3 separate regions of the Homo sapiens genome follow, and regions 1 and 3 are each linked to region 2. The links are contacts of gene promoters, found by promoter capture Hi-C in blood cells and fetal thymus (Javierre and others, 2016). All regions are on one chromosome and are shown on one strand. The core of a region is centred on a gene start or on the middle of the fragment in contact, and the rest is flanking DNA. Distances in the headings are between cores, read along the strand shown. Region 1 overlaps SNRPB (small nuclear ribonucleoprotein polypeptides B and B1). Region 2 holds the start of IDH3B (isocitrate dehydrogenase (NAD(+)) 3 non-catalytic subunit beta). Region 3 has its middle 2.5 kb from the start of ZNF343.

Evidence for each region. Contacts are between HindIII fragments. The CHiCAGO score rates a contact against its expected background, and 5 or more counts as called.
Region 1: a contact is called between a fragment that was not itself captured here and the fragment with the promoter of IDH3B in region 2, in 1 of 17 cell types (erythroblasts). The highest score is 5.5, in erythroblasts.
Region 3: a contact is called between a fragment that was not itself captured here and the fragment with the promoter of IDH3B in region 2, in 2 of 17 cell types (total CD8 T cells and naive CD4 T cells). The highest score is 5.5, in total CD8 T cells.

What each region holds. Positions count from the first base shown.
Region 1 is chr20:2,465,942-2,469,086 of GRCh38, forward strand. SNRPB (small nuclear ribonucleoprotein polypeptides B and B1) reads right to left here. Exons shown (of 7, transcript NM_003091.4): 2 at 1,666-1,817. Among named protein-coding and RNA genes, the nearest start is that of SNRPB, 3.3 kb to the right of the region's middle. The HindIII fragment of the contact is 1,161 bases long and covers 1,107-2,267 here.
Region 2 is chr20:2,662,443-2,665,892 of GRCh38, forward strand. IDH3B (isocitrate dehydrogenase (NAD(+)) 3 non-catalytic subunit beta) reads right to left here and starts at 1,774. Exons shown (of 12, transcript NM_006899.5): 1 at 1,711-1,774; 2 at 1,483-1,563; 3 at 1,218-1,316; 4 at 1,004-1,124. The coding sequence starts at 1,746. It overlaps IDH3B-DT (IDH3B divergent transcript), which reads left to right and starts at 1,832. Exons shown (of 3, transcript NR_186432.1): 1 at 1,832-2,164; 2 at 2,816-3,062. RefSeq lists enhancers at 51-838, 2,412-3,197. The HindIII fragment of the contact is 11,157 bases long and covers 1-3,450 here.
Region 3 is chr20:2,509,645-2,513,176 of GRCh38, forward strand. It overlaps a transcript of ZNF343 not described here. Among named protein-coding and RNA genes, the nearest start is that of ZNF343, 2.5 kb to the left of the region's middle. RefSeq lists an enhancer at 97-692. The HindIII fragment of the contact is 2,911 bases long and covers 1-2,780 here.

The sequences.
Region 1 (3,145 bases), core at 437-2,936, 200 kb before region 2:
ATAGCCCTCCTGGATAGTCTCTACAGGCTGAACACATAACCTCTTAGGTGGCTATCTACCTGTTTCCTACCATGCCAAGAGGACACACTGACCAAGAGATAGGACAAGGTCAACAAAGCCCAGCCCGGGCCCAAATGCTATTCCACAGCAACCGTGAAGGCCCTTCCCTCAGCCAAGTCTTCTTTCTTAGGACCCTATTCCCTCCCTTCAGCTTAAGGTCTTGCCAACATCAGGAGGCTGCCTAAACAATTCCAATCAAATGACTCCCACCCACCTCACTTACGTGCAGTGTCCTTCTAATATCAATTCAACCTCACAGGCCTATAATTCTGCCCCTCATCTTACATCAGAAATAGGAGAAGCCATAGAAGGAAAAGGTTAAGAGAAATTTCACATACACAGAAATTGAAATTTCATATCTGTTCCTCAAAAGCATAAAAACAGAAACCCCCAAAAAGCAACAACCAGAAAAAGATGAACAAAATATAAATGTGAAGTAGGAAAAATAACTGCAACAGGATAGGAAAGTGGGGAAAAAAGCTAAAGCTAGATCCTAAAAATAAAGGGGAAAAAATAGCCTGATTTAAAAAAAGAACTCAAAAGATTTTGTTTTGATATTTTACAGTATATTAACTGGTTGTCTGTGGATGGACAGTTTTTCCCTTTTTTGGCTCACATTTTCTTATTTTTTAAAATAATAACCATGTATTGTCCTTTCATAATTAGAAAAAAACCCTTCGGGGTATTTTAGTTTCTATTCATAGACTTCTTTGTATTTTCAAAAATATTTTCCAATAAACATTTTTTATAATCAGGAGGGAACTTTGGAGTAGCTCCACGCTCATCTGTTGGCCCCTCTCTAATACGTACCTGGCACCAAGGCATCCCTACCACATTTTTAAACTATACTTCTTGACCTTGGGTCACAGAAGAAATCAGCCCCAAGGAGAATCAAAGGGAATTCAAAGTGAGTGACAGAATAATATGGACACTGCATATGACAAAAGAGCTGCTGGCCACGGAAGTCACATCATCTTTTTGTGCCTCAAGTAGCCTTGAATGTAAAACATGATGGGAAGCTAAATCATATCTTTTAATGGGCCAAAAGCTTAAGATCTGTGAGACTCAAGGCAAGGGAGTTAGCCAATAACTTACGGAATTGTAGCAAAGTAGACAATATCTCCAATTGTTTGTATAAATGCCAACAAAAATCACTGGCCCCAAACCCACATGGGGAGCTGAGCACTTACCCTGAAGAGGGTCAGAGGCTTCTTAAAGCAGTTTCAGACCAGGCTGCATTGGGAGAGCCCTTTAGGCTACAGCTTTACAAATAGGCAATGAGGCCAGAAACTCAAGCTCTCCCCCCTCACACACCTGTGGGGAGAACATGAGAGCCCTTTACCCCAGTACCCAGGGGCACGCAAAGTGAGAGAAACAAAAAGCCTAGCAGCCCTTCACAACTTGTACTTTGCTAGACTAGAGAGCAAGGTTTGCTGGACTCAAAAAGATTTCTTAGCGTTCAATGTCCCCATTTAAGTCTGCCCTCTAAAACTGGAGAATAAACAGAGAAGAACCAACTAGCTACATCACCACCTCTATTGCTTGGCCCACCCACTCAATCCATTCCCATCCTCCAGTCTCCGCCCCCCACAGTCCACTCCTCACTTGATCTTTCTGAACTCATCACAGTCACAGAGGATCAAATTCATGTGCTTGTCAAAAGCCTTGAAGGTGCCAATGAAGATCCGGCCGTCCTGCAGGATGCACCTCATCCTGTAATCAATATGCTGCAGCATCTTGCTGCTCTTGCCCACCGTCTGCAAGGAGAAATGGACAGGGATGAGACTCTGCTCTTTTGGACCCAAGCACCTCTGGCCCTCCCCAAAACTTCCCATGGCGTTCTTGTCCATGTGTCCAACTTTCTCAACAGATTCTTAGCTCAGTCTCCCACCCACAGCCTTTTCCTAGGAATTCTCCCATGCCACCCTGTTTTAGCCCTGACCTCTACCCAGTAATCTGCTATTCTCTCTTCCCTTGAAATCGGTCTTTCTCATATTATAATTGCCTTTCTCCTTGTCGTGTCAGTTGCAGGGATGAGAGTATAGGGTGTCCCCAAAATAATCCAATGCATACATACTAGAGCCATCTACCAGTGTGCAGATTATAGATATGTGACTCAAGTGCTATGGAACATTCAAATCTCATTAAAAACACTGAGTAAAGGAAGAGCTAGAATAGGGCTGAAACTAAAAATCTAATCAACAAGAAGCTTGTTATCAGGAAGGAGATCAGCTTCAAGGTGAAAAATGAAATCCACATATCAAGAATTTGTTAGTGTGCCTCCAAGACTATATTTGGCAGAGGGAAACTTCTGATGGTTAGGGTGCTAACCAGTTTGGACATATAATGGTCTTTAACCCAACAAACATTTCTGCTTTCATAACCTGGGTTCCAATGTGCTAAAATAAAGAAGTGACTATATAGGTATCACTTTGTGAACTGTCAGGTACCCTAAGCAGTTGTATTTCTCTCTATAAACAAATCACCTGGCATTTGATCTGTATATCATCCTCCCATCAGTCTGACTGCTATACCCAAGTCCTAACCCACCAAGTGCCTTCTATGGACATCTGTTCATCTCTGTGAGCTCAGACAACAAAGTTCTGAACCTGCAAATATGCAGATCAAAACCTTGACTCCATGGCCGGGCTCAGTGGCTCACTCCTGCAATCCCGGCATTTTGGGAGGCCGAGGTGGGCAGAACACCTTAGGTCAGGAGTTCAAGACCAGCCTGGCTAACATGGCGAAGCCCCGTCTCTACTAAAATTACAAAAATTAGCCACACGTGGTGGCAGGTGCCTGTAATCCCAGCTACTCGGGAGACTGAGATGGGAGAATCGCTTGAACCTGGGAGGTGGAGGCTGCAGTGAACTGAGATCATGCCACTGCACTCCAGCCTGGGTGACAGGGAAAGACTCCATCTCAAAAAAACAAAAACAAAACTTGACTCCACACAAAGATACTGCGAGCCTCCCTCAGGTTAGGTGGTTCAGTTTCCATTCAATGACCATTTTAACCAGCTTCTAACCACAAGGGATCTGAACCTTTAGGGCAACATTCACTGGTCCAGCTCAACTAATGTTTA
Region 2 (3,450 bases), core at 524-3,023:
AGAAGAGATATGGAAGATGAACTATAGGGGCAGAACTAGAAGCCAAAAAAATCAAATGAGGAGATTAAAGCGCGGAAGACAAAAGAAAAGGGGCAGCTAGGCACGGTGGCTCACGCCTATAATCGCAGCAGTTTGGGATGCAGAGGTGGGTGGATCACTTGAGGTCAAGAGTTCGAGACCAGCCTGGCCAACATGGTAAAACCCTCTCTCTACTAAAAATACAAAAATTAGCCTGGGCATGGTGGCTCACACTTGTAATCCCAGCACTGTGGGAGGCCAAGGCGGGCAGATCACAAGGTCAGGAGTTCGAGACCAGCCTGACCAACATGGTGAAACCCCATCTCTACTAAAAATACAAAAATTAGCCAGGCATGGTGGCACGCTCCTGTAATACCAGCCAGCTACTCAGGAGGCTGAGGCAGGAGAATCACTTGAACCCGGGAGGCAGAGGTTGCAGTGAGCTGAGATGGCAACATTGCACTCCAGCCTGGGCGACAGAGCGAGACTCTGTCTTAAAACAAAACAAACACAAAAATTAGCTGGGTGTGGTGGTGCACACCTGTAGTCGCAGCTACTCAGGAGGCTGAGGCAGGAGAATTGCTTGAACCAGGGACGGGGAGGTTGCAGTGAGCCGAGATCGCGCCACTGCACTCCAGCCTGGGCGACAGAGCAAGAAGAAACAAAGAGGAAGGAAGGGAGGGGAAAAAAAAAAAAAGAAAAGGGGCAGCTAAAAGTGGTATTCCAGAAATGCAATGAATAAGATTTGATGACAGTTGATGTAGCCTCAGGACAGACTCAGAACCCCTGGAACTTTTCTGCATAGACAGCTGACATGATCTCTCAACTCCTGGGCTCCCAATGGGAAGGAACAAATGTCCAAATACCAATGGTGGTTGCCCTGGAGTTAATATAATTGCATAGCATGTGGGGAGAAGGGCTTAATAAACATTTGGTCATTTGATTTTAAATGGCACATGGACAAGTGGCAAGAGGGCACACATACCAATGATGGCCACTTTGTTCTCCTTCATGGAACTCAGCACCTGCTCCAGCTTCTCCTCAGATGCCATATTCTGCACCTCACTCAGGTGGTGCTCCTGGAACTCCACTGGGACAGCGGCAGCCTTCAGAGACAGGTTCCCAAAACATCACAGTCAAGGCCAAGTCCTTTCCAACACACTACTGTCCTCTACTGTCTGATCCCCGAGGCCACTCACCTTGAACACCTCCTTGACGGCGTGCATCAGCTCAGGCCCCACACCGTCTCCCGGAAGCATGGTCACGGGAAAGGAGCCCTCCACCCTCACGTCCTCGGCCTCAATTGGGGGAAGAGGGGAGAAGTAAAGATAGAGCTGGGGCGGGAGCACGGATCCTGGGAGTAGAGAAGTAGGGAGACCCGGGAGGGGTGGGGAAAAGCCAGGGGAGGGAGCAGCGAGGAAGGGACAGGGTCGTAAGAGAGACCCCAGCCAGATTCGTGCATACCTGGCTCCGCGATGCAGCGTGCGCCGCGGCCGAGGTACTCAGACCTCTCCATGCCCCAGGGTTCCCGGCGGAGACCAGCGCCTGCAACAGGGACACACAAGCCTGTAAGGTCAGCTTTGAGACATCCAGACCCCGAACACTACAGTTGACTTTGCCCTGTTTAGGAAACCCTAGGACAAACTCTCCGCTCCTTCGCCCGCCCCTGCCCGACATGTCCCGGGGCCTCACTCGGGTCAGCCAGCGGACTCCGCTCAATGCCGCCATGTTTCCCGCAGGAAGTCGCGTGGGAAGTGACGCCTGAAGCTGGCGCGGCCCCGTACCCCGACTTCCGGCCTGTACTGAGTTCCTGGTATTTCTCTCTCTGCGCCAACCAGCACTGCTTGCTCACGCCTGTTTCTCCTTTTCCTTGCCGGTGGGGAGGTCATGGGATGCGCAAGCACTTTGTCTCTTGCTTTGTTTTCAGTCGCCATATTTAATCTACGTCGAAACTTCAAAATAACATTAGGGGGAAAAATGTAGCGTCATGTTTATCAGACGAGGACCTGAGCTTAACAAGCGATTGAGAGAAAATCCTTGGGAAGCTGTTAAAATTTGTGTGTCAATGCGTTTGTTATTCTTTTAACCAGTACTCACTGAATACCTGTATGTCAGGCTCTCGAGGAATACAGTACAGACATGGGAGGTGTGTGTCGGGTTTCTCCGCCAGTCTCCGAGAGTGCCCAGGACCTCTGTATTACCCGTCGCCTCGTAGTTTTTTCTTACAGGGTTTTGTTCTTTGCTCTGACAGTTATTTCCCTAATAGTGTGTCCCGGACTTGAACTCCCCAGGACAGGCCCATAACTAGTGTCAGAAATGAGTTCAAGCGTGTAAGTGTGACTAAAGGGAATTTCAGACTGATCCTTAAAGTAACAATCATAAAAACTAAAAAAAGCCTGGACAACATAGGGAGACCTCGACTCTACAAAAAATTTAAAAATTAGCCAGGCGTGGTGACACACCTGTAGTCCCAGCTACTTAGGAGGCTGAGGTGGGAGGATCACTTAAGCCCGGGAGGTGGAAGCCGTAGTGAGCCGTGATGGCACCACTGCACTCCAGCCTGGGAGACGGGGCGAGACCCGTCTCAAAACAATTACAGTCACGATTTTTTTTTTTTTTTTTTTGAGACAGAGTCTCGCTCTGTCGCCCAGGCTGGAGTGCGGTGGTGCGATCTCGGCTCACTGCAAGCTCCGCCTCCTGGGTTCACCCCATTCTCCTGCCTCAGCCTCCCGAGTAGCGCCCGCCATCACACCTGGCTAATTTTTTTTTTTTTTTTTTTTTTTTTTTGTATTTTTAGTGGAGACGGGGTTTCACCGTGGTCTCGATCTCCTGACGTCGTGATCCGCCCGCCTCGGCCTCCCAAAGTGCTGGGATTACAGGCGTGAGCCACCAAGCCCGGCCTCCAGTCACGATTTTAGGTGTGTACAATTGACACACCTAAAGACAAACTGGTACAGGAAGATTTGCCTCACCCGCTCTTCTGGAAGTATGGTTTTGGATCACCTATCCAGATGGACCAGAGCTCTTGTTAAAAGTGCAGGCTTGTGAGTCATACTTCATTTGCTGAATCCAAATCTCAGTGATGGGGGCCCAGAAAATATATCTCTAACAGGCTCCCCGTTAATACACACTGAAATTTAAGAACCACTAGCTAGGTTCTCTGTGATAAGTTCCTCCTTCGTATATACCTCAACCAGCCAAAAAGGTGGCAACGCAAAGGCATTCCCAGTGCTTCTATTCTTGGGGAATATGCATAGGCTTTGTGCCTCCTCTGCAATCCTTTAGGTGCGACATTCTCCTATATAGTAGTAGGATGAGAAGATTAAACTAGGTAATGTGTAAGAGTTTTGAACAAATGAAAAGTACTGGGTAAATATAGAGCTGTTATTATAGCTAATATAATATTAGTATAACACACTCCTCTATTTCCAT
Region 3 (3,532 bases), core at 75-2,574, 150 kb before region 2:
GCTGGAGGATGGCTTGAGCCCAGGAGTTAAATGTATATATTTTAAAACTAATAATATTTTTAAAACTGGGCTACGCTGGTACCTTCTGCAACACGGCAATTAGGGGTTTGCAGATCAGACCTTCAGCTCATAGGAGGCGCGTTTAAATCTTAATGGCAAATACAAATTGAATTAAATTTTACTTGTTACTGAAGGGGAAATAAACCTGACCTCACGCCCTTGGAGTATTTCCATGAGAAATCTATGTATAAGTGCTCCTTTGATATGTACCTGATACTTTTGAAAGGCTGAATAAGCACCTGCCAACTTTACAAAAGAGGAATGTTTCCCCCAAAGGCCTGATGAGCCATCTCTTTGAAATGTAAACAGTGAAGAAGATAGTGCCCTTATCTCCCTGTCACCTTGGGAGTTTAGCTTAGGTGCCTAGCTCCAAACTCGTAACTGCCCGCTTGTCACAGATAAAAGTTTTATTTTTTCTTTTTGATAAAGGCAATTAACTAGTGTAGATGGCTACTCCAATTACCAGGTGAATTTAGAATGAATTATGAAAAATTGTATAGCAAACAATGTCAAATCCTCTTACAAGGGGGCAAATTACCATTAATTTTGAGGACATGTTTGTAATAGATTGTATCTGCCCAACTAGATAAAAAGTAAGATCTCTTTCTGTCTGGCATCTGATTAGCAGATTGTCTACAATGTGCTTCCCAGTCCAGTTCAATATTATTTGGTAATAAAACTGTTCTCCTTCTTTTCTACGTTTGTGAAGGGGATTTTCTGGGTTAGCAGGAGATTTTGTTTTTATTTTCTCCAACACCTCCTTCCATCTTCTTATTTCTTTTCACCTTCCCAATATCAGCCTTCTGAGGCTTCTCTGTTCTCCAGTACTCAGGAGATAGAGAACATGGCCCCAAGGCCGTTGTGAGCCAGGAGACAGACAAACATTTCTTGATATTCTGTCCTGCCTTTCACAGAAAGGACCAATTCCCTTCTCTTGTCTTGGAGGCTGCCGTGTTAGTACTGGGCAGAATCTGTTACTGAAACACCAGGGGTTGGGTCTAGGTCCTGCTGGTTGCCAGTCAGAAAACCAATCACTGAGACGAGTATTGCAAGGGAAGAAGGCCTTAATTGAGTGCTGCAGCCAAGAAGATGGGAGATCAGTCTCACATCCATCTCCCTGACTGACCAAAATCAGGGGTTTGTATAGCAGGGAAGAAATGTAACTATGTGTGGGAAAACAGAAATTAGGGAGAGGTAAGTTGGAACAGGAAGGAGGTGATTGGTTAGGCAATATGACTGATGAGGAGTGTGGGTTCTCATTGTCCACATGCAATGATTTGGTAAGTTGCAGCTCCTTGATACTATCTGGGAGGCCTGATGTTTGGTTTTCCTGAGAAAGGAACTCAGGACAAATGTGACCTTCTCAAGTTTTAAGACTGGGGGAATCCATTTCTTTTCTTTCCTTTTCCTTTCTTTTTTTTTTTTTGGACAGGGACTTGCTCTGTCATTCAGGCTAGAGTGCGGTGGCATGATCACCGCTCATGTAGCCTCAACCTCCTGGGCTCAAGTGAGTCTTCCACCTCAGCCCCGAGTAGTTGGGACTACAGGCACATGCCACCACACCTGGCAATATTTTTTAATTTTTTGTAGAGATGGGGTTTCACCATGTTGCCCAGGCTGATCTTAAACTCCTAGGCTCAGGTGATTCTCCCACCTCAGCTTCCCAAAGTGCTGGAATTACAGGCATGAGCCACCGCACCTGGCCTGGAAGGACCAATTTCTGTTTATTCAAAGAAACCATAAACATCAATTCTGTGGGACAATTGGGACAGTTTCAAATCCAGCCCTTGATCTGGAGCCCTCCCTCAGCATCCCTCTGTGCTCCATGTGACTGTTATTCATCACGTGAATAAAATCTATGGAACAGTTGAATTAAAAATACAAGGACAGAGGTGACATCAATGGGAAATCTCTGTCCCTTCTGTTTAATTTTGCTATGGACATAAAATTCATCTAAAAATGAAGTCTATTCATAAAAGAGAAAATTAGGAAAATTTTGCAATGTTTTACTTGCCCCTCGCCCTGCTTTCCTCCCTGGCTCTTCAGCAGTCTCAAAGCCTACATTCACAGCATGGGATGCAATTATGACAGACCCACAGCTAACATCATACTCAATGGTGAAAACTGAAAACTCTTCCCCTAAGGTCAGTGACAAGACAAGGATGCTTACTTTTGCCACTTCTATTCAACATTGTACTGGAAGGTCTATTTATAGCAATTAGACAAGAAAAAGAAAAGCCATCCAAATGGGAAAGGAAGAAGTAAAACTATCTCTATTCACAGATGATGTGATCTTGTATATAGTAAACACTACATTTCTATAACTAACAAACGATTTGAAAATAAGAAAATAGTTCCATTTGCAATAGCATCAAAAAGAATAACATATTTAGGAATAACTTTAACCAGGAAGGCACAAGATTTGTACACTGAAAATTACAAATCATTGCTGAAAGAAATTGTGTAAGCTCCAAATAAATGAAATTACATACTCCGTTCATGGGTTGGAAGGCTTAATATTGTTAAAATGGCATTATTCCTCAAAGCAATCTACAGATGCAATGCTATCCTTGTCAAAATTCCAATGGCCTTTTTGCAGAAATGGAAAAGTTGATCCTAAAGTTCGTATGGAATTTTAAGGGACCCAGAGTAGCCAAAACAATTTTGAAAAAGAATAAGGTTGGAGGACTCACTCTTCTTAATTTTAAAACTTAATACAAAGCTTCAGTAATTAAAACAGTGTGGTACTGCCATAAGGGTAGACATAGACCAATGGATAGGATTGAAAGTCCAGAAATGAAACTGTAGAGAAATGGTCAATTGCTTTTCAACAAGGATGCCGAGACCATTTAATGGGGAAAGAATAGCCTTTTCAATAAATCATGCTGGAACAACTGGATAACCACAAGTAAAAGAATGAAGTTGGACCTCTACCTCCCACTGTATACAAAAATTAACTCAAAGACTATAAAGATCTAAATATAAAAGCTAAAACTCTTAGAAGAAAGCATAAGGGTTAATTTTCATTACCTTGCATCTGAAAAATTGTTTCTTAGATGTGACACCAAAAGCAGAAGCAACAAATGGAAAAATAAATTGGGCCAGTCGCAGTGGCTCACCCCTGTAATCCCAGCACTTTGGGAGGCCAAGGCAGGAGGATCATTTGAGCTCAGGAGGTCAAGACCAGACTAGGCAACATAGACCATTTCTCTACCAAAAAAAAAAAAAAAAAAAATCCCCTCAAAAATAGCTGGGTGTGGTGGCAGGCATCTGTAGTCCCAGCTACTTGGGAGGCTGAGCTGGGAGGATAGCTTGAGCCTGGGAGTTCCAAGCTGCAGTGAGCCATGATTGTACCACTGCACTCCAGCCTGGATGACAGAGTGAGACCCTGTCTCAAAAAAGAAATTGGAATTTATCAAAATTTAAAACTTTGTGCGCCAAAGGACACTACTGGAAGAGTGACAAGGCAACC